Regions from separate parts of the Homo sapiens genome. Here region 1 is linked to region 2. The links are contacts of gene promoters, found by promoter capture Hi-C in human tissues and cell types (Jung and others, 2019). All regions are on one chromosome and are shown on one strand. The core of a region is centred on a gene start or on the middle of the fragment in contact, and the rest is flanking DNA. Distances in the headings are between cores, read along the strand shown.

What was found. Contacts are between HindIII fragments. The study calls those that stand out against the background at their distance.
Region 1: a contact is called between a fragment that was not itself captured here and the fragment with the promoter of C17orf99 in region 2, in 1 of the 25 tissues and cell types used here (spleen).

The regions. Positions count from the first base shown.
Region 1 is chr17:78,088,720-78,091,993 of GRCh38, forward strand. It overlaps TNRC6C (trinucleotide repeat containing adaptor 6C), which reads left to right. Exons shown (of 23, transcript NM_001142640.2): 16 at 2,721-2,888. Among named protein-coding and RNA genes, the nearest start is that of TMC6, 38 kb to the right of the region's middle. The HindIII fragment of the contact is 5,688 bases long and covers 1-3,274 here.
Region 2 is chr17:78,144,535-78,147,790 of GRCh38, forward strand. C17orf99 (chromosome 17 open reading frame 99) reads left to right here and starts at 1,851. Exons shown (of 5, transcript NM_001163075.2): 1 at 1,851-1,910; 2 at 2,345-2,377. The coding sequence starts at 1,874. RefSeq lists an enhancer at 2,874-3,093. The HindIII fragment of the contact is 10,351 bases long and covers 1-3,256 here.

The DNA of each region.
Region 1 (3,274 bases), core at 553-3,052, 56 kb before region 2:
CTTCCCAAAGTGCTGTGATTACAGGCATGAGCCATCACACCTGGCCTAATATGTAAAGTTCTTAAATAGTGCCTAGCACATAGCAAACACTTTGTAAAATGTCAGCTACTTATGTAAGTGCTTCTGTTTTAGAAACAAATTTCATCCCACCTATTATCCTAAAATGCATTAGCTTCAGCTTTCTATTATTCACCTGTCTTCTTAACCTATATTTGGAGGATAAAGTACACTTATCGTTACTTTTTTTTTTTTTTTTTTTTTTTTTTGAGATAGAGTCTTGCTCTGTTGCCCAGGCTGGAGTGCGATGGCGCAGTCTCGGCTCACTGCAACCTCCACCTTCTGGATTCAAGCAATTCTCCTGCCTCAGCCTCCCAAATTGATGGGATTACAGGCATGCATCACCACGCCTGGCTAATTTTTGTATTTTTAGTAGAGACTGGGTTTCACCATGTTGGCCAGGCTGGTCTCAAACTCCTGACCTCAAGTGATCCGCTCACCTAAGCCTCCCAAAGTGTTGGGATTACAGGCGTGAGCCACCGTGCCCGACCACTTATCTTTACTCTTAAGGATTTTTTCTCTTAGTACAAGTTAAAGAATTCATGCAGTGAATCTTTGAAATTAGTTGAAAAATAATTTGGATAATATTTTATAATATTCACAGTAAAGTTATAAATGTATTAAAAGCAAATAACTAATAAAGTCTAGGAAACTTTGGTTGTAAAATTGCCTATCTTGTTGGCTCTCAGCATTTCTCTGCAGCAGCACCTATGTTGAAGAGCCTGTTAGACACTCATCAATTCATGTAAAGAAACCAGCAGCCCATGGTCAGTAGTGGGGGCTCCTAGCTACCTTCCTTCCCTCATGTTCAGCCTGTCGTTGTTATTCTCAGTCTTTTGCCACCTGGAGTTCGCCATCTAGATAGGAAGAGCAGGCATATAAATGGGAAAAAATAACCTTGATACCAGTGTCATGTGATTCTTACAGGGCTCTAGAGAAGGAAAAGTTCACTTTCACTTTGAGTGGTGAAAGAAAAATCAGAGAGTAGGATTAAGCTTGAACCTCAAATGATTGGATAGGATTACAGTAAATAAAGAGGAAGCCTTTCCAAATAAAGGGGAAGCCTCACGTAGCACAGAAGAAAGAGGCCTGGCTTGTTTCAGGGGCCCATTTTGCAAGGGCCAGGCCAGTCTAGCTGACTTTCCCAGAGGGGAAAGTTGGGAGAGATGGGTTGGCGCCAAATTGTGAAATTTGGAGCATTCTGAAGGCCAGGTTGAAGCCCTGACATTGTTGCCACCTTACCTGGCTAGATCTGTACAAGCTGAAACGAAAAGAACCCACACAGCAGAGATTGCAAGTAGGCAGCCCTGTGGCACTGATGGGCTTGCAAAGGCGTTTTGTTAGGTCTGCGAAGTGTGTGTGTGCATGTGCATAGGTGTGTGTTAATGCCAACATTCAAAAATTGGGGAAAGTGGCTTCTGGCTTCTCTTAAAAATGGCTATAGTGGGTCTATGTTCCAGGTAGCAATAGGTGGTTGGCCCCAGTAGCACCTGTTTATTTAGACAGGACAGACACTCTCTGGTTTGCCACAGTCCCCATGAAGCCCACTTCTTCATGTGCATGGCCCACCTGGCTCCTATGGGCATTTGAATTTGCAGCCTCTGAAATAAAGGTAAGAACCAGAATGTTCAGCACCTGGCTAAGTAGTAGAGGCTCACTGTGCTTACGTACCGTGTGGCGTAGTACTTACGGTAAGGACCTATGGGGTATGTGTATGTGGTAAGGGGAACTGCAGCTGGAAATACAAGGGGAGGGGGGCGCTTGTGCTGGTTATTCCCTTCCAAACAAGCAGTCTGTCCTGCTCCAAACTAGTGTCCTCATCAGAAACTCTTTACTTCAACCTTCTTTTCATTGTCCTCCTCATCATCTTTCTTTATTAACCTAGCTTAGTGCAGGTCCTGGACAAATAACCAGGTACCTGCTTTTAGCTATAAGGAATGAGCCCAGAAGCCTCAGCTCACCATCCCAGCTGGGGGCAGATGGCAGCACCCCCGCTGTCAAATAGTTCAGTTCCTTAAAAGTAGTTTGATACTTAATTCACAGACTCTTTCAGAGCAGACTTTTGTAAAGGAAACTCACTAAAGGTAGAACTGAATTATCCTATCAGTCTGTTTCATAGGTGGTACTTTAGAGTTCTGGAAAAGTGTTTTTGACCTGATGAGTTTCCGTAAGATATCCCAAAACAAAGAAAGATTTTCCTAATAGTTTGGACTTTTTCTATTTTCCTGTGGACTCTGAGAAGCCTCAGGACCATGTTTATTCAGCACTGAAACAAGTAAAATGAAGAGAATTGTGGGCCTTACTTAATCAAAGACTATTCACATTTTCACCTTAATTTAGGAATAATATTCCTAGAAATACATGTTGTTATGACGATAAGTAGTATTTTTTCACCAGCACTAAAAGTTATAGTTAAAATATTTTGCTGTATCCCAGCTACTTGGGAGGCTGAGGCAGGAGAATCGCTTGAACCTGGGAGGCGGAGGTTGCAATGAGCCAAGATTGTGCCATTGCACTCCAGCCTGGGCATCAAGAGCAAGACTCCGTCTCAAAAAAAAAAAAAAATTTGCTGTAAGCGAAGACTGAAATAGCTTCTATAGGAGAGCTTTAGAATGAAGTCATTTAGAGGAGCAGGCGAATCCTAACCGCATCTCTCTCTTTAGCTGGACTGAACCCAAACATGAATGTCAACAGCATGGACATGACCGGTGGCTTGTCGGTGAAGGACCCATCCCAGTCCCAGTCACGCCTCCCCCAGTGGACGCACCCCAACTCCATGGATAACTTGCCCAGTGCCGCTTCCCCCCTGGAGCAGAACCCTAGCAAGCATGGTACGTCTGAGCTAGGATGCCTGTGGTGGGATCACTGCTGGCTTATTAATCGATCGTCCTGTTGTATAGCATGGCCATTCTATACTTTTCTAAGAATTGAGCACTGAAAGTTGGATTTAAAATAACCCATTCCATTATAGTGCATATAAGATCTCAGCTAGTCACTGATCAAACTTCTTAAAACCCAACCATTAGATCTTAGCTACAAACTTAGAAATAATTTGAAAACCCCAGAGCAGCAAAGAATCTAGGTCATAGCCTGTGTACTTTTTTTATGTATCTATATTCATCAACAAAAACTTGAGTCTGCTGAAATGTTTTCAATAAAATGGTAAAACATAAATAGAAAATCAAATATACAGTATGTATGGGAACTGCAGCTGTAA
Region 2 (3,256 bases), core at 601-3,100:
CCACCCGCCTTCAGCAGAAGTGAGAACAGACTTTGGGAAGGGAAGGGAGTTTTACTAAGAAACTAAGAGAAAATGCTCTTGCTCCCCAGCTGGGAGAAACCGAAAACAGAGAGGCCGGTGGGTGCACAGGAGGCAGCCTCCATCCCCGGGACCATGGGTAGCAAGGTGCAGAAACGGACTCATGCCAGCTGGGAGAGGGGGCCACCGAGGGGTCAACAGAGCCAGTCTGCAGTGACCTCCAGGACACCTGCACCTGCCTCCCCACCATCCTTCTGGCCACTCCCTGGTCAGCAGGGCCACTCCCTCAGACCAGCTTCCCAACACACCCAGGCCTCCGGTGCAGCAAGTGCCTGGGAAAGGCTGAGAGGAGAGCTGGGCCGGGGCTGTGAGTGGCCTCCCTTGGTCAGGTGTTCACTCCTGGACGGTGCCCAGGGGCAGAGAGTGTGATTGACCGGTCAGGAGCCACAGGTGGCAGCAGCTCCCACAGGAGGCAATGGTCACCTGGTGGCAGGGGACATATTCCTGAAGGAGGCAGCCAGAAAAGGCATTCCCCACACAAAGTGTGGGAAACTGAGCCGGGCCAGAAAGTGACAGGCTGGTCCAGCAGCCCCAGGCTGAGCTTGGGCACAAAGCCGGGTGCAGTGGCCCACAGCGGAGCTGGCAGGGCCCCAGCCTCAATCCCTTGCGCCCTTACATCTCTCTGTGTTCCGGGGAATGCCTGGCCCCAGCCCTGGCCTCGGGGCTCTGGGAGGCCCTGCTCACCCCCACCCTCCCTGCATGTGCAGGAGGCTCTGTGGCTGAACTCTGCACACACACTGCCTGCGATGCAGCTGGGTCTGCTGCTGGCCAAGGCCAGCACTGGGGCCAGTTCCCTGGGGAATGACCATCCATGTGACCTCCCACCACCCTCAGTGGGGCCTGAGGGACTTCTGAAGGGCGGTGCTTGGGCACACCACGCTCCGGGACCCAGGACTCCAGGACCCATCACACTCCAGGACCAGGGGCCTCGTCGGTCTGGGGTTTCATTCTGGGGCTGGGTGCAGCCTTGGCCTCCCGGCTGTGAACCATCATGGGTGGGGCTGCCTTTTCTCAGCCCAGCAGGTCCCCAGCTGCTTGGAAAGGCCCCAGTGATTACATGAGGGTCACCTGGGTCATGTAGGACGGGCTCCTCCTCTCAAAATGAGAAGACTCACAGCCTTCATTCCCCTTGCCGCGTAGCATGGTGCTCACGGGCTCCAGAAGTTACAGCGTGGACATCTTTTTTTTTTTTTTTTTTTTTGAGATGGAATCTCACTCTGTTGCCCAGGCTGGAGTGCAGTAGCGTGATCTTGGCTCACTGCAACCTCCGCCTCCTGGGTTCAAGCAATTCTCCTGCCTCAGTCTCCCGAGTAGCTGGGATTACAGGCGCACGCCACCACGCCCGGCTGATTTTTAGTAGAGATGGAGTTTCGCCATGTTGGCCAGGCTGGTCTCGAACTCCTGACCTCAGGTGATCCGCCCATCCAGGCCTCCCAAAGTGCTGGGATTACAGGTGTGAGCCACTGTGCCCCGCGGAGCATGGACACCTTCTGCCCACCACGTGAGCCCGGGATCCTGCGGCTCAGAGGTGACTGCTGAGTCTAAGCCCTGGTCTGGCTTCAAGGTCCAAACTCCTTCCACTTCTCTGGGGATTGAGGGGGAGTTTGCTGTACCGGGCCTGCCGGGGCTCTCTGGGCCCCGCCCTGGTAGCTGAGGCCCTGGGGTGCTGCGGCCTCCAGGTTATCTCCCCACTGCAGGCACCCACCCAGGGAGCATCCCAGGGGCCTCAGGGTGGGGGAGGCCAGGAACTAGGAGGTTCTCACTGCCCGAGCAGAGGCCCTACACCCACCGAGGCATGGGGCTCCCTGGGCTGTTCTGCTTGGCCGTGCTGGGTGAGTCCACCAGGGACGTGATGGTGGGGCTGCTGCTGGGGCCTTGAGGTCTTGGGCTCAGGTGGGGGTACTGGGAGCACAGGAGAGATGAGGCCTGAAGGAAGGGCACCTCTGGAAACATGGACAGAGAGGGAAAGATCTGGGCTTGAGTCTCGGACCAGCCCCTAAACTTGCTGTATATGTGGTCCAGGGATTTCTGCACCATTCTGGGCTCACTACTTACCCATCTGCGAAATGGGCGGATGAGAGGCGATGTTGTGGGGGGAGGGGCGCAAAAGAGCTTTTGTGAGTGATGGTGCCAGCTGAGTCCTGGGGCCTCACTACCAAGAATCAGCCTGCTCCTCCCTCCTGGCTTCAGCAGGTGGGTCTCGAGGCTGTCTCTGGTCTCCCCTCCACACCAGGCCCTCTCCTTATCGCCCTTACCTCTCTTACAGCTGCCAGCAGCTTCTCCAAGGCACGGGAGGAAGGTAAGTGGCATAGCCTGCTGCAGGGAGAAGTCCCCCAGCTGGGACCCTGGTGTCAGAACCCCCATGGTGGAGGGCGCCTCGGCTGGGAAGGGAGTTACTAGTGGGGAGGTGTGTGCTGGAGGATGGCTGGACAGTTCTGGAACACTCTCTTCACCCTGCAGGGCCCTAGGAGTGATGGAGATGGGCAGGCCAAGCAGGCCAGTGTGGGGACCTCCGGGGCACACAGGCAGGGAAGTTGCTCAGCTTCCAGCCTTTGGCTGGGCTGTTTGGAGGGAAGATTCCCTGGGCAGGTGCATCCTCATCACTCTGCCCCAGGTCCCTGATCGGGAGCAGAAGCCCCCCCTGAGACCCTCACAGCTCTGCCCGGTGGGCGAGGCCCCGTGGAGGGCTGGGGAATTCTGGTGGGGCCTGGGAGGTTGGGATTCTCTGACCAGGAGGAGGGCCGTGAGAGGATGGTGAAGTTAAGGCTCCCCCAGGGGCCTGACATACACGAGGCTGCCTTCCTTATAGAGGCAGGTGGGGAGTGGAGAGTGTCTGGGACCCAGCTGGGTACAGGACCAGGGAGGAGGGGACGCTGGGGAAGGTCCCTGACAGCCCCTAGCCTGGCCTGCTTCCTCATCTTTGCCTGCTCCATCTTTCTGCCTGCACTTTCTTGCCCCATCCTTCCCTCCCCTCCCCTCATGTCCATTAAGGTGAGGATGGACAGTCACCTCCCTATATTGTCCCAACTAACCCTTGCCCCTTGTTGCTAGGCCATCAGGTTACAGAGCAGGGCCTTCCCCCTCTATTTTGCTAAAGGGCAGGTACAGGGTAATGATGACGCCATTCTCACTTGAATGAGGCCCAGGTTGAACCATTATTTCCTCATTTGCTTTAAAA